2 separate regions of the Homo sapiens genome follow, and region 2 is linked to region 1. Evidence: promoter capture Hi-C in human tissues and cell types (Jung and others, 2019). All regions are on one chromosome and are shown on one strand. Each heading gives the region's core, a stretch centred on a gene start or on the middle of the fragment in contact. The rest is flanking DNA. Distances are from core to core; before and after follow the strand shown.

What was found. Contacts are between HindIII fragments. The study calls those that stand out against the background at their distance.
Region 2: a contact is called between a fragment that was not itself captured here and the fragment with the promoter of FBXO39 in region 1, in 1 of the 25 tissues and cell types used here (liver).

What each region holds. Positions count from the first base shown.
Region 1 is chr17:6,774,512-6,777,617 of GRCh38, reverse strand. FBXO39 (F-box protein 39) reads right to left here and starts at 1,403. Exons shown (of 4, transcript NM_153230.3): 1 at 1,346-1,403. XAF1 (XIAP associated factor 1) reads right to left here. Exons shown (of 7, transcript NM_017523.5): 7 at 1,971-3,106. LOC124903905 (a long non-coding RNA gene) reads left to right here and starts at 1,508. Exons shown (of 3, transcript XR_007065594.1): 1 at 1,508-1,598. The HindIII fragment of the contact is 13,622 bases long and covers 1-3,106 here.
Region 2 is chr17:6,914,446-6,917,646 of GRCh38, reverse strand. No RefSeq gene overlaps it. Among named protein-coding and RNA genes, the nearest start is that of ALOX12, 80 kb to the left of the region's middle. RefSeq lists an enhancer at 2,783-3,201. The HindIII fragment of the contact is 5,172 bases long and covers 1-3,201 here.

The DNA.
Region 1 (3,106 bases), core at 154-2,653:
CCACAGCACTCACCACCAAGCAAAGCTCCTAAAAGGTGCTGCAGAAGAGATAAACCAGTTTAAAAGCTCCACGAAGCAAAGACTTGGAATCAACCCAAATGCCCATCAATGATCGACAGGATTAAGAAAATGTGGCACATATACACCATGAAATACTATGCAGCCATAAAAAAGAATGAGTTCATGTCCTTTGCAGGGACATGGATGAAGCTGGAAACCATCATTCTCAGCAAACTAACGCAGGAACAGGAAATCAAACACTGCATGTTCTCACTCATAAGTGGGAGTTGAACAATGAGAACACATGGACACAGGGAGAGGAACATCACACAATGGGGCCTGTCGGGGGGTGGCGGGCAAGGGGAGGGAGAGCATTAGGACAAATACCTAATGCATGCGGGGCTTAAATTCTAGATGACAGGTTGATGGGTGCAGCAAACCACCATGGCACATGTATACCTATGTAACAAACCTGCATGTTCTGCACATGTATCCCAGAACTTAAAGTATAATAAAATAAATAAGTAAATAAAAGCTCCATGAAACCTTTTGGCCTAGCAAGGTTGTAGGTCAGGAAAAGTCATCAGACACTGGTGCTGTAAGGGTGGGGTTGGAAGAATATGTGTGTCTGGAAGAGTTGCTGTAAGGAGACTCCAAATTCTATTTAATGACTGGGAGCCTCCCCTTACCCCCCGAGACCCCATCAGAGGCAGTGTAGCTTAGTGGGCTGCATCCTAGCTATGCCCATTACAGTCGGATGACCTTAGGCAAGTCAATTTCTTTATGTGTGAATCCTCACATCTGTATATGGGGTAATAATAGTGCCTTTCTCTTAGTGTTGGGAGGATTAAGTGAGCTGATACCTGGAAAGCACCGGGAACAGTGAGTGCCTGCCACGTAGTAAACGCTATACAAGAGCTGGCTGCCATTAATAAGAAAGTTGGTGCCGAGGTACTTCTGCAACGTCCCGCCAAGGAAGATAGGAATACAAACACATCCATTTCACAAATACGGAAACGGAGGTGTTGGAAGGTGAATAAAGTTTCCCAGGGAGAACGTGTAGTAAGTGGGGAGATAGGATTCGAACCCAGGGTTGGTCCACCATATCACACAGCTGCCAACCAGGGAGGGAAATCTAAAGATGTCCTACCCACCGCGGGAGGGGGAGTTGGCCTGGCAACTCCTGCAGCCAAAGATGCTTCCCAGAGGGGGTGATGAGAGCAGCCCGCCTCCCCGCCGCGGGCCTCGGGGCATCCCACCGCCACCCCAGCCTGCTCCGGCCCGCATTCTCCCGTTACCCGTTCGCTGAACCCCGCTCGGGCTGCAGGGACTGGAGCGCGCCTACCTGCTCCGCCCGCGCAGCTGTTGCTCCGACGCCAACTCCATGGGCGCCCCGGGTCTGCGCCTTGCTCTGGCCCAAGCTAAATGCCAAGCTCCGGCCGCCTTTGTGACGCGCTGCCGCCTGCAAGGCTCTGTTCCTGCCCCCGGGTCGCAGAGCCCCAAACCTGCAGTTGCCTGGTCAGTGGATCCCATGTGCAGAGGGCGAGACGGGGCCCTGGCCAGGCGTTGGGAGGCGGGAGGCTCGGCCGGCGCTCCGGGTGAGGATGGCACGCCCCCGCCCTTGCTTCTGCGCACAGGGAAGACATTCGGCCCCGAACTTGGGGCTCAAAACGGTTCAGTTCGCTGCCTTTCCCATCCTGACCCAGCCCCGGGTTTTTTCCGAAGCCGCCGCTGGATAGGTTGCATTACTAGGCTTCCCCCAGCCACTCTCCCTGCCCAAAGCCTTCAGAAGCCGCCCCTCTCCCCTTCACCTGGCCCTTATCCACTGTCCCAGCCTCATTTCTTTCCCCCTCCCTGAATGTCTTCTGCTCCCCTTTCCTTGGGCACTGCCCTTATCCTGGGGTCCTGGCTGCTGCCATTCCTGGCCCTGGAAAACCAGTGCGGAACCCAAAGAAAGGTGGAAGAGCAGCTTTTAGAGAGGTGTTTTTATTCTTTGGGGACAAAGCCGGGTTCTGTGGGTGTAGGATTCTCCAGGTTCTCCAGGCTGTAGGGCCCAGAGGCTTAATCAGAATTTTCAGACAAAACTGGAACCTTTCTTTTTTCCCGTTGGTTTATTTGTAGTCCTTGGGCAAACCAATGTCTTTGTTCGAAAGAGGGAAAATAATCCAAACGTTTTTCTTTTAACTTTTTTTTTAGGTTCAGGGGCACATGTGTAGGCTTGCTATATAGGTAAATTGCATGTCACCAGGGTTTGTTGTACAGATTATTTCATCATCCAGATAAAAAGCATAGTACCAGATAGGTAGTTTTTTGATCCTCACCCTCCTTCCATGCTCCGACCTCAGGTAGGCCCCAGTGTCTGCGGTTCCCTTCTTTGTATCCATGTGTACTCAATGTTTAGCTTCTACTTATAAGTGAGAACATGTGGTATTTGGTTTTCTGTTTCTGAGTGAGTTCATTTAGGATAATGGCTTCCAGCTCCATCCACGTTGCTGCACAGGACATGATCCCATTCTTTTTTATGGCTGCATAGTATTCCATGGTGTATATGTGCCACATTTTCTTTTTTTTTTTTTTAAGGCAGAGTCTCGCTTGGTTGCCCAGGCTGGAGTGCAGTGGCAGGATCTCGGCTCACTGCAACCACCACCTTCCAGGTTCAAGCGATTCTCACGCCTAGGCCTCCCAAGTAGCTGGGATGACAGGTGCTCGCCACCACGCCTGGCTAATTTTCGTATTTTTAGCGGAGACGGAGTTTCTCCATGTTGGCCAGGCTGGTCTCAAACTCCTGACCTCAGGTGAACCACCCGCCTCAGCCTCCCAAAGTGCTGGGATTACAGACATGAGCCACCACTCCCTGCCACCACATTTTCTTTATCCTTTCTACCACTGATGGACATTTAGTTTGATTCCCTGACTTTGCGATTGTGTATAGTGCTGCCGTGAACATTTGTGTATATATGTCTTTATGACAGAATGATTTAGATTCCTTTGGGTATATAACCAATAATGGGATTGCTGAGTCAAATGGTAATTCTGTTTAATCATGTCCCATTTGTCAATTTTTGCTTTCGTTACAATTATTTTTGGGATCTTTGTCATGAAATCT
Region 2 (3,201 bases), core at 272-2,771, 140 kb before region 1:
TCTTTTTTTAAAAAAATTTTCTTTCCACAGGTTATTGGGGAACAGGTGGTGTTTGGTTACCTGAGTAAGTTCTTTAGTGGTGATTTATGAGATTTTGGTGCACCCATTACCTGAGCAGTAAACACTGCACCCAATTTGTGTTCTTTAATCCTTCACCCTCTTCCCGCCCTTTCCCCCTGAGTCCCCAAATTCTATTGTGTCATTCTTATGCCTTTGCATCCTCATAGCTTAGCTCCCACTTATGAGTGAGAATATAGGATATTTGGTTTTCCATTCCTGAGTTACTTCACTTAGAATAATAGTCTCCAGTTGCATCCAGGTTGCTGCCATTAACTCGTTGCTTTTTATGGCTGAGTAGTATTCCATCGTATGTATGTGTATATGCATATCACAGTTTCTTTATCCACTTGTTGATTGATGGGCATTTTGGTTGGTTCCACAGTTTCGCAATTGCGAATTGTGCTGCTATAAACATGTGTGTGCAAGTACCTTTTTTGTATAATGACTTCTTTTCCTCTGGGTAGATGCCCAGTAGTGGGATTGCTGGATCGAATGGTAGTTCTACTTTTAGTTCTCTGTGAATCTCCACACTGTTTTCCATAGTGGTTGTACTAGTTTACATTCCCACCAGCAGTGTAGAAGTGTTCCCTGTTCACTACATCCGTGCCAACGTCTATTATGTTTTGATTTTTTTGATGATGGCCATTCTTGCAGGAGTAAGGTGGTATCACATTGTGGTTTTGATTTGTGTTTTCCTGATTAGTGATGTTGAGCATTTTTCATATGTTGGTCATTTTGTATATCTTGAGAATTGTTGTCTATTCATGTCCTTAGCCCACTTTTTGATGGGATTGTTGTTTTCTTGCTAATTCGTTTGAGTTTGTTGTAGATTCTGGATATTAGTGCTTTGTCAGATGAATCTTCTGGCCTCCATTGTTTTTGATGAGAACCCTGCAGTCATTCAAATTATTATTTCTCTATGGGAAATACATTGCTTTTCTCTGCTTGCTTTCAAGATTTTTTTCTTTGGCTTTAGTTTTCACTAGTTTGATTGTGATTATCTGGATGAGGATTTGTTTGTTTTATCCTGTTGGTGATTTGTTGAGATTTTCGAAGCTGTAAGTTATATCTTTTATGAAATTTGAAAAATTGGAAGTCGTTATTTATTTTTTTTGTGCACCACACACTCTTATCTTTCTTTGACTCTGATGACATGAATGTTAGACCTTTTGGTTTTGTCCTTCATGTCCTTGAGACTCTATTTACTTAAACAATTTTTTCTTGATGTCATTCAAATTGCATAGTTTCTATTGAGCTATCTTCAAATTCACTGACTGTTTCCTTTGCTGTCTCCATTCTGCTGCAAGCTCACTCAGTGAGCTAAAACTTTTTTTAAAAATTTATTTTATTATTAATTTATTAATGGGGTACAGGTGGTTTTTGGTGACATGGATGAATTATATAGCGGTGAAGTCTGAGATTTTGGTGCACCCGTCACCTGAATGGTGTACATTGTACCTAATGCATAGATTTTGTTCCCTTGGTCCTCTTCCCACCCTCCTGAATCTCCTTCTGAATCTCTAAAGTCCGTTATATCACTCTGTATGCCTTTGCGTATTCCTAGCTTAGCTCTCACTTATAAGTGAGAACATACAGTGTTTGGTTTTCCATTCCATTATCTCCTAGGGGGTTGGAATGGTAGAGGTTTCTTAAAGCTTATCTCCTTCTCCCATCTCATGCACTTTTTATTTATTTATTTTCCCCCAGTATTTTATTTACTGGTTTGATGGTTCAGGTTTCAGGCCAGTAGAAGAGGTGTCCCTGAGTAGGAATCGGTTGTGGGTAAAGCAAGTGGGTAAATGAAGACCCAGGCTTGACAGAGGTGGCTGGAGGAGCCCTCGGTGAGTCACAGTGAGGTCTTATCAGGGAGAAGGGTTGGAGCCACCTTAGCTCCCCTGCAAGGTCAGCAGGGACGTTTTCCACTTCTTAGATATGCTCCTGTCCCAGCGCTCTGGCTATTCAGATCAGACAGGCACCTCTTTTCATCTGTAGGTGTTGGTGTTCCAAATAGAGAGGAATTGTGACTGTTTCTTGTGCAAGCCTGATCCTGGAGGGTGCTCCTCTTGTGGGGATGCAGTCGCCTTGATGTGTTCCAGAATGGCCGTCTATAGTTGCATCCATGTCGAGCTCCTGTGGGAGAAGTCCCAACTGTGCATATGGTGGTGAACAAGGGGGGAAAGACTGCCTCTTCTCCAAGATCCTTCCCATGCACCAAAGCTGTCTGACTGTTGCGATAGAGCTGAAGGCTTTCCCCGCTGAGCCTAGCACTTCAGCTGCGCCTCTGCTCAAGGAAGCTTTCCACCAGCGGAAGGATCTGATGCTCAAGGCCTGCCATCCCGATTCTTTGGTCCCACAGGGTCTTCCCTTGATGGGGCGCACTCCCCCTTTCCCTATGAGTGGGAGTCCCTGTGAGCCACGCTACTGTGAATGTTGTTGCTCCTCTGGGTCTAGCTGCCCAGTGACGTTGCCACCCTCCAGGCTGGTGTTGGGAAATGCCAGTTGTGAATGCCAGTTTCCCAGAAGTGGGTAGCAACACCAGCTCTACTGGGGGTAGCAGGGGAGTGACGTAGACTCTGAAATTCCTTGGTTATTGGTAGCCATAGTATGTTGGCTTTCTTGAATGCTAGTTATAGTAGTAATGAGCTGGTCATGTGGACTCAGGACCTCCTGGTTAGCCGGAGTGATGCAGGCAGTGGTAATAGCTGAGATCATAGAGCCTCCTTCTTCCTGGGTGCAATGTTATTCTACCAGGAGATGCTGTAATGGACTGTGCTGGTTGGCCTCCAGCCAGGAGGTGGTGCTTGCAAATGAACACCGGCTGCGGTAGGTGGGTGTGTGGGGGGGGGGGGGGGGGAGGGGCGTGGTGGTGGGGGCGTGGAGGGAGGAATACTCTGGTTTCACAGGCAATAGTCAGGGCCACAGAGCTCTCAAGAGATTCTGTCCTTTGTGTTAAGCTACCAGGGCAAGTGGCGGGGCAAAGCGAGATGGGGGCTGCGTCGGTCAGGTTTGTGCTCTGATTCTCCGTGTGCAGGGCAAGCAGCAGCTCCTGTGAATGTTGGGGGATGGAGTGGGTCTCAGGCCACTGGGTTGATGTTCTTCTGCCCCCGCTGCGCAGAAGAGTTTGTGCAGAGTGGGGAGTAG